Linked DNA regions of Homo sapiens: regions 1, 3 and 4 are each linked to region 2. The links are contacts of gene promoters, found by promoter capture Hi-C in blood cells and fetal thymus (Javierre and others, 2016). All regions are on one chromosome and are shown on one strand. Each heading gives the region's core, a stretch centred on a gene start or on the middle of the fragment in contact. The rest is flanking DNA. Distances are from core to core; before and after follow the strand shown.

What was found. Contacts are between HindIII fragments. The CHiCAGO score rates a contact against its expected background, and 5 or more counts as called.
Region 1: a fragment that was not itself captured here is called in contact with the fragment with the promoter of GFAP in region 2 in 3 of 17 cell types (endothelial precursors, megakaryocytes and erythroblasts); the score reaches 7.4 in endothelial precursors.
Region 3: a contact is called between a fragment that was not itself captured here and the fragment with the promoter of GFAP in region 2, in 5 of 17 cell types (endothelial precursors, megakaryocytes, erythroblasts and 2 more). The highest score is 9.9, in endothelial precursors.
Region 4: a contact is called between a fragment that was not itself captured here and the fragment with the promoter of GFAP in region 2, in 3 of 17 cell types (endothelial precursors, erythroblasts and M1 macrophages). The highest score is 6.0, in endothelial precursors.

The regions. Positions count from the first base shown.
Region 1 is chr17:44,978,965-44,981,664 of GRCh38, reverse strand. It overlaps the pseudogene LOC112268183. Among named protein-coding and RNA genes, the nearest start is that of C1QL1, 12 kb to the right of the region's middle. The HindIII fragment of the contact is 3,216 bases long and covers 1-2,700 here.
Region 2 is chr17:44,914,250-44,916,949 of GRCh38, reverse strand. It overlaps GFAP (glial fibrillary acidic protein), which reads left to right and starts at 1,450. Exons shown (of 9, transcript NM_002055.5): 1 at 1,450-1,924. The coding sequence starts at 1,464. The HindIII fragment of the contact is 16,653 bases long and covers 1-2,700 here.
Region 3 is chr17:45,005,333-45,008,032 of GRCh38, reverse strand. All of the region lies in intron 2 of LOC107987243 (a long non-coding RNA gene), which reads left to right. Among named protein-coding and RNA genes, the nearest start is that of C1QL1, 38 kb to the right of the region's middle. RefSeq lists an enhancer at 1,429-2,385. The HindIII fragment of the contact is 5,941 bases long and covers 1-2,700 here.
Region 4 is chr17:45,036,170-45,038,869 of GRCh38, reverse strand. The region is part of intron 1 of DCAKD (dephospho-CoA kinase domain containing); the gene reads left to right. Among named protein-coding and RNA genes, the nearest start is that of DCAKD, 14 kb to the left of the region's middle. RefSeq lists an enhancer at 2,325-2,700. The HindIII fragment of the contact is 322 bases long and covers 1,115-1,436 here.

The DNA of each region.
Region 1 (2,700 bases), core at 15-2,514, 65 kb before region 2:
TCCTGGGACGAGAGAAGAATTCTGGGTGATTTCCAAGTGTTCCACTGGAAGAGCCCAATGTCTGGGTCCCCAGGCTGGGCACTCTGACACTGCTCTCTGGCCCCTTGGGGGAATCACATTTTGTTGTGCGTTTGTTTGGTTTTGATCAACTCTAAACACTATGTAAGCAAGAACCTTGTCTGGCTTTCTCACTGGCTCCCAGGACGCAGCTCAGGACCTGGCACTCGGATGAGCAATGGTTGTTGAGTAAATACATGAATGAACCCGTGAAAGCATGAATCAATCAGGACATCAAAACCTGGACGGAAAGCTGCACTGCTGATTAAAAAAACAGGAAAACAGCAGTCAGTGCAACTTTCCCTCCTTTGTATTATGATTCCTTTTTTGCCTTACTGATTTTATAGAAATGATTGTTCTCAGATTGCAGAGCACAAACTGGCTGATTGATGCCCCAGAACTAATACCGTGAGACAGACCCGAGGCGAGAAGGACGATTATTTAACACAGCACCAGGGGCATGTGGGGTCATCATTCTTGTGCATGGTAAAGCGACGAAATAAAAAGTTTATGCCCAAAACACACTGGGTTCCTCATAGTGGCTTCATTCCCCAACCCCCTCCTCAAGCACCCTGTCTCATTCACCAGTTCCTTCCCTGTCTAGCAGGTCCTGGGTGCCTGGGAGCAGAGAGTTGGCCCATTCTCCCCAAGTCCAGCTTCAAGGTCCAGGGACCTGGGCAAGGTGTGGTTAACACTGCCCACGTTTTGGGGAGGGGGCCAGTGGCTCCCCTGCTCTCTACTGTGACACTGGGAGGCAAGGGCAGCCAGGCCGATTCCTGGTTTCATCTGGGCCCCTGTGGGTGATGAGATGGGCAGTGATGGGTGAGCTGGCAGCCAGGCTGGAGTGGCATGGCCAGCTGCCCTGGGGACTGTCTTCCCTGCTTGTCACCACTCCCGGCTGCCCAAGCAGCAAAGCCACAGTGACAAGATCCAGAGGGGAAAGGCTCCAGCTGGGGGTGGTGCTGGTCTCATGGCCACCGGAGCAGCAATGTGACAGCTTCTCATCTGGGTGGGGGGGCCTCGGTCCCCACCCCCTTCCCCCTCTGGCTTGACCCTTGTCAGTCTCTATTTCTTTGCCTTGCCTTTGTCTCTGCCTTGCTTCCACACCAGGCTTCTATCAGCTCTGAATGGCCCTTGGTCCATGCCTCTCTCCCTCTCTCCTCCCTCTTCCTCACTTCCTGACTTCAGGACCTGTTCCCTCCTGCTCCCTACAAGCATGCATACACACACATACACACACACACACACACACACACACACACACACACACGCACTCATACCCCACCTCAGATAGGAAACAGGACTTGCCCTCCCAGGACCTGTGTTAAGACCTATGGGGAGTGGCTGGGATCTGGGCCCCCAGTGGGTCTGTGAGCATGAGGTGGTGAGTGTGCAAAAGTGTGAGCCTATGAGAGTGAGTATCAACGTGGACGTGGGAGTTGGAAAGCATGTGTGTACATGTGTGAGTGTGACAGTGAAGTGTTGAAAGAGTGAGGGTGGGGGTCAGTGTGGCCTTGGCCACATGAGCACGCAGGTGAGCTGTGGTGAGGGTGGAAGGATGTGAGTGACTGGGTGTGAAAGCGGAGCCCAGGGCAGATGGACAAACGCATCCTTCAAGCTCGTGTTCCTGGATATAGAGGCTGCCGGCCCCATACCCTCCTTGATCACCCCCTCTTTGTCATCCTGGGCTCCCTCAAATCAGGCCAGGGTGTGGGAAGGGGGAGTGAAGCTGCTGAGCTCCGGGCAGGGCCCTGCCCGCTCCCTGGGCCTGTCAGCCACTGATCTGTTCCATGTTCCTATAAATATTTACAAATCCCAGCTGCTGAGGAGCAAGACATCCTCCGCCAGCTGGGGCTCCCAGCCTGGAAACTGGCAGGGAGGGAGCTAGCAATCGAGGAGCAGCGGGGAGGAGAGGTGGGACTGCACTGGAGACTGGAGAGGCAGGCATCCAGGACTCCTGAGTTCTGCTCCTAGTTTTACCAATGGTTGGCCTAAAGTGCTCGAGTATGTCTTCATCAGGAACTGTAGAGCCAGAAATACCTTCCAAGATAACATGGGAAACCTGCCCCACCCCTACCTGATAAGCACTCCCCACTCGACAGCCAACCTCCTGCCTTCTAGTCATGTCTCTCAATTAGGGGCAAAGAGAGGGATCTTCTTGTGTTTTTGTTTTTTTTTTTTTTCTGTAGAGACAAGGTCTTGCCATGTTGCCCAGCCTGTGATCTCAACTCCTGGCTTCAAGCAATCCTCCTGCCTCTGCCTCCCAAAGGACTGGGATTACAGGGCCGAGCCACCACACTCAGCCTCTTCTTACTTTTTACATGACACAGAAAATTCTCCTGGAGTCCCTGGAGGGTATTACGTCTTTGAACTCAAAATCTTTCCCTGGACCCACGATCAATCCATCAGGCTCTTTCTAGATTGGAAGCTGGAAGACCTGCAGCTCAGTGACCCCCATCACAAGAGCCCCTTCTGTAGCCCCCGATAGGAACTAAAGCATTTTTTCTGGCCTCACCCCTACCCCCAGCCAGCCCTGTCACTTCTGGAGCTGGGCTGGTTGTGACAATCTGGAGGAGGGAGAGTTACGTGGCACCTGTAGGGAGGACTCACTCCCCCGAGCCCGTCAATACTTGGCCCAGGCTG
Region 2 (2,700 bases), core at 201-2,700:
TGGGATAAAAGCAGCACAGCCCCCTAGGGGCTGCCCTTGCTGTGTGGCGCCACCGGCGGTGGAGAACAAGGCTCTATTCAGCCTGTGCCCAGGAAAGGGGATCAGGGGATGCCCAGGCATGGACAGTGGGTGGCAGGGGGGGAGAGGAGGGCTGTCTGCTTCCCAGAAGTCCAAGGACACAAATGGGTGAGGGGACTGGGCAGGGTTCTGACCCTGTGGGACCAGAGTGGAGGGCGTAGATGGACCTGAAGTCTCCAGGGACAACAGGGCCCAGGTCTCAGGCTCCTAGTTGGGCCCAGTGGCTCCAGCGTTTCCAAACCCATCCATCCCCAGAGGTTCTTCCCATCTCTCCAGGCTGATGTGTGGGAACTCGAGGAAATAAATCTCCAGTGGGAGACGGAGGGGTGGCCAGGGAAACGGGGCGCTGCAGGAATAAAGACGAGCCAGCACAGCCAGCTCATGTGTAACGGCTTTGTGGAGCTGTCAAGGCCTGGTCTCTGGGAGAGAGGCACAGGGAGGCCAGACAAGGAAGGGGTGACCTGGAGGGACAGATCCAGGGGCTAAAGTCCTGATAAGGCAAGAGAGTGCCGGCCCCCTCTTGCCCTATCAGGACCTCCACTGCCACATAGAGGCCATGATTGACCCTTAGACAAAGGGCTGGTGTCCAATCCCAGCCCCCAGCCCCAGAACTCCAGGGAATGAATGGGCAGAGAGCAGGAATGTGGGACATCTGTGTTCAAGGGAAGGACTCCAGGAGTCTGCTGGGAATGAGGCCTAGTAGGAAATGAGGTGGCCCTTGAGGGTACAGAACAGGTTCATTCTTCGCCAAATTCCCAGCACCTTGCAGGCACTTACAGCTGAGTGAGATAATGCCTGGGTTATGAAATCAAAAAGTTGGAAAGCAGGTCAGAGGTCATCTGGTACAGCCCTTCCTTCCCTTTTTTTTTTTTTTTTTTGTGAGACAAGGTCTCTCTCTGTTGCCCAGGCTGGAGTGGCGCAAACACAGCTCACTGCAGCCTCAACCTACTGGGCTCAAGCAATCCTCCAGCCTCAGCCTCCCAAAGTGCTGGGATTACAAGCATGAGCCACCCCACTCAGCCCTTTCCTTCCTTTTTAATTGATGCATAATAATTGTAAGTATTCATCATGGTCCAACCAACCCTTTCTTGACCCACCTTCCTAGAGAGAGGGTCCTCTTGCTTCAGCGGTCAGGGCCCCAGACCCATGGTCTGGCTCCAGGTACCACCTGCCTCATGCAGGAGTTGGCGTGCCCAGGAAGCTCTGCCTCTGGGCACAGTGACCTCAGTGGGGTGAGGGGAGCTCTCCCCATAGCTGGGCTGCGGCCCAACCCCACCCCCTCAGGCTATGCCAGGGGGTGTTGCCAGGGGCACCCGGGCATCGCCAGTCTAGCCCACTCCTTCATAAAGCCCTCGCATCCCAGGAGCGAGCAGAGCCAGAGCAGGATGGAGAGGAGACGCATCACCTCCGCTGCTCGCCGCTCCTACGTCTCCTCAGGGGAGATGATGGTGGGGGGCCTGGCTCCTGGCCGCCGTCTGGGTCCTGGCACCCGCCTCTCCCTGGCTCGAATGCCCCCTCCACTCCCGACCCGGGTGGATTTCTCCCTGGCTGGGGCACTCAATGCTGGCTTCAAGGAGACCCGGGCCAGTGAGCGGGCAGAGATGATGGAGCTCAATGACCGCTTTGCCAGCTACATCGAGAAGGTTCGCTTCCTGGAACAGCAAAACAAGGCGCTGGCTGCTGAGCTGAACCAGCTGCGGGCCAAGGAGCCCACCAAGCTGGCAGACGTCTACCAGGCTGAGCTGCGAGAGCTGCGGCTGCGGCTCGATCAACTCACCGCCAACAGCGCCCGGCTGGAGGTTGAGAGGGACAATCTGGCACAGGACCTGGCCACTGTGAGGCAGAAGTGAGGAGGGGATGGGGAAGGGGGGCCTTGTGAGCAGAAGGGGCTGAATCCCCAAGAAGGAGTGCCCGAGAAGTCTCAGGGAGGGGCCGAACCTCCCTGCTCCCTGGGCCTCCCTACCTCTTGATGGGGCACTATCCTTGCCCCCCAACATGATGGGAGGGACCAGAAACAGGCCCAGGGCCCCGGGGATCTGATGCCCGCATGCCTTCTGCCAGGAGTCCAGGGTCCCCTCAGCACCTCCCTACTGGGGAAAGCAGTGCAGGAGCAGCGGGGCCCCTGTGTTTCATTCATGGCTGGGCTTTGTGACTGTGGGCAGCGAGCTCACCTATTCTGAGCCTGTGTCCATATAAAGGAGGAGTTGGAAGCGGAGAAGGTTGATGTCCATGAGGGAGATTGGATTCTGGGGTGAAGAAAGTGAGGGAAAGAGCAGGCAGGTCTGGGCGCAAAGCACAGGTGACTGCCTGCCACCAGCTTGTGACCCCCATCAAGTTACTTTGACTTGCACAGCTGTGAAGCGGTGGTCATAATAAAATTCATTTCAAAAGGTGGTTACCTGGGATCAGAGGAATCCCCAGGGGCATGGCGCTTCACTGAGCTGACAGGACATGCATGTGTGCCTTCAAGTGCAGGAGGACATGTGCGTGTGTGTGTGTGTGTGTGCAACAGTGAGTGTATGCTTGTGGATGCGCCTGTGTGAGCAGAAGCAGGTGCACCAACCCTGATAAGGCACCTTAGTAATGAGTTAAGGCAAAAGCCCACATCTGCTCATCCTCCAG
Region 3 (2,700 bases), core at 80-2,579, 91 kb before region 2:
CCCAGTCTGGTCATGTCAGCTGTTGATGTGCAGGGAGCCCCTGCTGCACAGCCCGCTGGCCCAGAGATCATGCAGGTAGTCACTTCCCCTCCCTGCTGCAGAGAGGTTAGGGTGGGACCAGGAAATCCTGGGAGATGGTGGAGGAAGATGGGCAGAGCAGGAGAGAGTGGGGAGGGCCTGGGAGTCAGGAAACCTGAAGTGGAGATTAAAGCAGTGGCTGGGTCAGGCACAGTGGCTCACATCTGTGATCCCAGCACTTTGGGAGGCTGAGGCAGGTGGATCACCTGAGATCAGGAGTTTGAGACAAGCCTGGTCAACATGGTGGAAACCCGTCTCTACTAAAAATACAAAAATTAGCTGGGTGTGGTGGCATGCGCCTGTAATTCCAACTACTTGGGAGGCTGAGGCAGGAGAATCACTTGAACCCGGGAAGCAGAGGTTGCAGTGAGCTGAGATCGTGCCACTGCACTCCAGCCTGGGCGACAGAGCAAAATTCTGTCAAAAAAAAAAACAAAAAAAACAGTGGCTGGAGAGTCCGAGACCTGGGTTGGAGTCCTGGCTTTGCTTGACCTCTCTGGGTGACTGTGGGCATGTGGCCTCCCCAGTCTGGCCTGTGAACCGAGAAAGTCTGATGGCATGGGCTCTGGGCCTGTTCTCCTGTTGAAGTCTGGGAGTTCTGTAGCCCCAAGAGACATCTGTTACTAGAGGGAGGGAGTGAAATGGAGATGGACAGTAGGAGGGGGTTGCAACACCTATTACCAATGGTGGGAGGGGTAATCACAGCCGGGAGCCTCTGGGCCCCACAAGGAGTCTCCACCACTCCCCCCAGCTCCTCTTCTGTCGCTGCCCCTCAGATTCAATTACCAGCTCAGCTTTCAAATCGGGCTCCAGCCAGTAACTTTACTGGAGAAAATTATTATGTGATTATTTCAACCTTGCTCCAAACGCTGTTTTAATTGGATCTGGGAAAAGGCGATTTGGGCATCAGAGGAGCCACGCGGGGGCGGGAGCAGCATAGGAATGTCAGGCAGGGGAGCCCCACCTGCCCATGAGGTTCGAAAGGCAGACAGGACTGCTTCCCAGCCCCCTACCTCTCCCCAGGCCCCCCACGTTCATCGTAGATGGAGGGTAAGCCTCAGCCGGAAAGAGAAAATGGGTGTGGGGAGAAAGGCTTCCCAGGCAAGTGGGTTGTGGAGGGGGTTGGAGGGGGTTGGAGGGGGTTGGAGGGGGTTGGAGGGGGTTGGGGGGGTTTGGAGGGGGTTGGAGGGGGTTGGGGGGGTTGGAGGGGGTTGGAGGGGGTTGGAGGGGTTGGAGGGGGTTGGAGGGGGTTGGAGGGGGTTGGAGGGGTTGGAGGGGGTTGGAGGGGGTTGGAGGGGGTTGGAGGGAACAGGTTCCTAGCAGCCTGTCTCCTGCCCAAAGCAGCCATCAGCCACTTAGAAAACTACTTTCCTGCCAATTTCCTTCCCTCCTCTGCCCCCAGTCCCAGCCCACCTGGAATAGACTTTTGCTCAAACACTAGCCCAAGGAAGCAGAGTTGGAAAGAACATTTGATTTTCCAGGATCCAGGAGGGCCTTTGAAAGGGATTTGGATTTATCTGCTCCTGGGATCACCCTTTCTCCCTGCTAGACAGATGACTGGTGTTTGAACATATGCTAACCTTTCTGAGCTTTGGTTTTCCCATCTGTCAAAGAGAGGGTCCTAGGTGACCCCCAAGACCCCTCCCAGGAACGAAGGAAGCCATTTGCACTGGTTCTCCCTGTGCTCTGGCTCTCCATGAGGCTAGAGAAGTCCAGCACCAACTCTTTGGTGGCCAATTCTGCAGGGGCTTGTAGGCGCTGAGCCTTGTAGAGCCCATCTGCCTCGCAGCTAAGGATGTCCCTCCCCACCCCGAGCCAGAGCTCAGCCAGGTGCCAGGAGCGAGAGTGGGCCTGGGATTGGGGCAGGAGGAGAGGGGAGGGGTGTGCTGAAAGGTTGAGGGGCCAGGAGGAAGGACGCATCTTCATGGTCTTGAGGTCTGGCTTTCTCAGGGCTCTCTGTAACTCCTTTTCTCCACACCTTAACAAACACCATGTCAACACTTCTTTAAAAATTGTTTATTTTGTTTAGAAATGAGGTCTTGCTCTGTTACCCAGGCTCGGGTGCATTGGCTCCATCATAGTTCACTGCAGCCTCTACCTCCTGGGTTCAAGCAATTCTCCTGCCTCAGCCTCCTGAGAAGCTGAAACTACAGGTGCACACCACCATGCCTGGCTAATATTTTAAATTTTTTGTAGAAATGGGGTCTTACTATGTTGCCTAGGCTAGTCTTGACCTCCTGAGCTCAAGTGATCCTCCCACCTTAGCCTTCCAAAATGCTGGGATTACAAGTATAAGCCACAGTGCCCAGCCAATGCTTTTTAAATATTTTTTATTTTTTTAGAGATAGGGTCTTGCTCTGTCACCCAGGCTGGAGTGCAGTAGCCCAGTCATTGCTCACTGTAACTTCAAACTCCTGGGCGTAAGTGATCCTCCTGCCTCACTCAACACTTTTTAAAAAAAATCGCTTAGGTGGCTCATGCCTGTAATCTCAGCACTTTGGGAGGCTGAGGCTGATGGATCACTTGTTCCCAGGAGTTTGAGACCAGCCTGGGCAGTGTTAGGAGACCTAGTCTCTAAAAAAGTTAAAACATTTAAAAATTTAGCTGGGTGGCTGGGCGTGG
Region 4 (2,700 bases), core at 26-2,525, 120 kb before region 2:
GTTGGACAGGAACAGCTGTTATTTGTCAAGGCCCTTTTAAGTTGGGGACCCGGAGCCTCCCTGGGCGTGTGCTCCTTTGTCCGCTTGGCCTTCCTGATGGAGGCCAAGCAGCTGTTGGTCTGTTTCCACAGACACTCGGTCAAGGCACTGAGAAGGGAGGATACTCATTAGGTAACCCGGGAGGCTGGAATTTCCATCTGTGCTCTGGCCATTGTCCACACACCCCCTCAGCCCCCATTCTGCAGGAAGAAAACAGTATGATAATCAAGAAATTATTTCTCTTTGGCTCTGAATCGATTTGCCTACAAACAGATTCATCTTCCTTACTTTGTCTCATTAGTCTAAAGGTAAATTAATTTTTCATTCCTTGAGTACATTAAAGGCAGGGGTCTAGACTAGGGGTTAGGAGCCCTGAACTGCATCCAGCCTTTGATAATAGCTGCTGGTGGGAAGTCCCCTCCCTTCTCTGGTCCTCAGTCTCCACTGCTGTAAAAGAAGAGTTAGAATTTATCCTGAGCGCTGTTACACATCAGAACTGCCTGGGTGGGCAGATCACCTGAGGTCAGGAGTTTGAGCCAGCCTGGCCAACATGGTGAAACCTCGTCTCTACTAAAAATACAAAAAAATCAGCCAGGCATGGTGGTGCATACCTGTAATCCTAGCTACTCGGGAGGCTGAGGCAGGACAATCTCTTGAACCCAGGAGGCAGAGATTGCAGTGGGCCCAGATTGCACCGCTGCACGCCACCCTGGGGGACAGAGAGAGACTCTTGTCTCAAGAAAAGAAAAGAAAAGAAAAAAAGGCCAGGCATGGTGGCTCACGCCTGTAATCCCAGCACTTTGGGAGGCCGAGGTGGGTGGATCACCTGAAGTCAGGAGTTTGAGACCAGCCTGACCAACATGGTGAAACCCCATCTCTACTAAAAATACAAAAAAATTAGCCAGGCATGGTGGTGGGCACCTGTAATCCCAGCTATTCGGGAGTTTGAGGCAGGAGAATGGCGTGAACCCGGGAGGCAGAGCTTGCAGTGAGCCGAGATCACACCACTGCACTCCAGCCTGGGCAACAGAGTGAGACTCTGTCTCAAAAAAAAAAAAAAAAAGCTCTTGAAGCTTGGCGTGGTGGTTTACGCCTGTAATCCCAGTACTTTGGGAGGCTGAGGTGGGTGGATCACCTGAGGTCAGGAGTTCGAGACCAGCCATGGCCAACCTGGCAAAACCCCATGTCTACTAAAAATACAAAAATTAGCTGGGCATGGTGACGGCTGCATGTAATCCCAACTACTTGGGAGTCTGAGGCAGGAGAATCGCTTGAACCTGAGAGGCGGAGGTTGCAGTGAGCTGAGATGCGCCATTGCACTCCAGCCTGGGCAACGACAAGAGTGAAATTCCATCTAAAAAAAAAAAAATTCTTTCTAGATTTTCTATTTCAAAGCTTCAGCTGAGTGGCTGACATTTTGTTTGTTTGTTTTGTTTGTTTGTTTTTACAACTGAACCCTGTCCTTTTTGTGACCTAGAGGGAGATCACCAGCCTCAGAGAGATGGAGGAGAAATTATTATTTTTTTTAATAGAGAGAGAGCCTTGCTGTATTGCCCAGGCTGGCCTCGAACTCCTGGTCTCAAGCAATCCTCCTGCCTCAACCTCCCAAAGCACTGGGATTACAGGCGTGAACACCGTGCGTGGCCTAGAAATGATTGTTAAATAGTTGATTAATGTAGCTAGGTCTCTCCATTTGGATGATGACTCCGTGGTGGATAGTTTCCTCTCTCCACCTCTGGCTTTCCGGGGTGAGAATGAGCAGTGGCAGATTTCAATTTCTAGGTTGGTCCCCTGCTGCCCCAAGCCAGGCACCAACTCAGCCACATCCAAGCAGCTGCCTCCCCTGTCATTTGGTGTGTCCTCACGGGAGGCAAACTCATTTCAGTGTAAGCTCAAGCAAAGTGTAATTAGGACAGTAAATCTGCTGCTTAACGGCAACAAAAAAAGTCCTATGGCAGATTTTACAGTCCTGGAGAAGTGATTTGAGGCTGAAGGAAGGGTGGGAGAGACCTGGCCTTTGATTTAATTGCTTCCAGCCTGGGAACAAAGTCCAAGACATGGTAACCTCATTTACTCCAGAAAATGCACCATGACTCCTTAAAAGTTTATGGTGTGATAGTCTGAGGTTGGAGGAATAGGGACATGATTTCATGAAAGTCTTTTTTTTTTTCCTTTCTATGCCTTGCAGTGGAACTGTAACTCCTACTTTTCACCCTGTATCACTATCCTCACTTCCATTTTTGGGATATTTACCATTTATCAAGCAACATACCATGGACTGCAGATGCATTTTCTTTTTCTTTTTTTTTTTCTCTGAGACGGAGTCTCGCTCTGTCACCCAGGCTGGGGTGCAGGGGCGCAATCTCCGCTCACTGCAACCTCCGCCTCCTGGGTTCAAGCGATTCTCCTGCCTCAGCCTCCCGAGTAGCTGGGACTGCAGGCGCCCGCCACCAGGCCTGGCTAATTTTTTGTATTTTTAGTAGAGACGGGGTTTTACCATGTTAGCCAGGATGGTCTCGATCTCCTCACCTCATGATCTGCCTGCCTCGGCCTCCCAAAGTGCTGGGATTACAGGCGTGAGCCACTACGCCCAGCCAAGGCAGTCTTATGATCCTAAACCTCATTTTATGGATGAGAAAACTGAGGTTCAGGGAGGCAAGC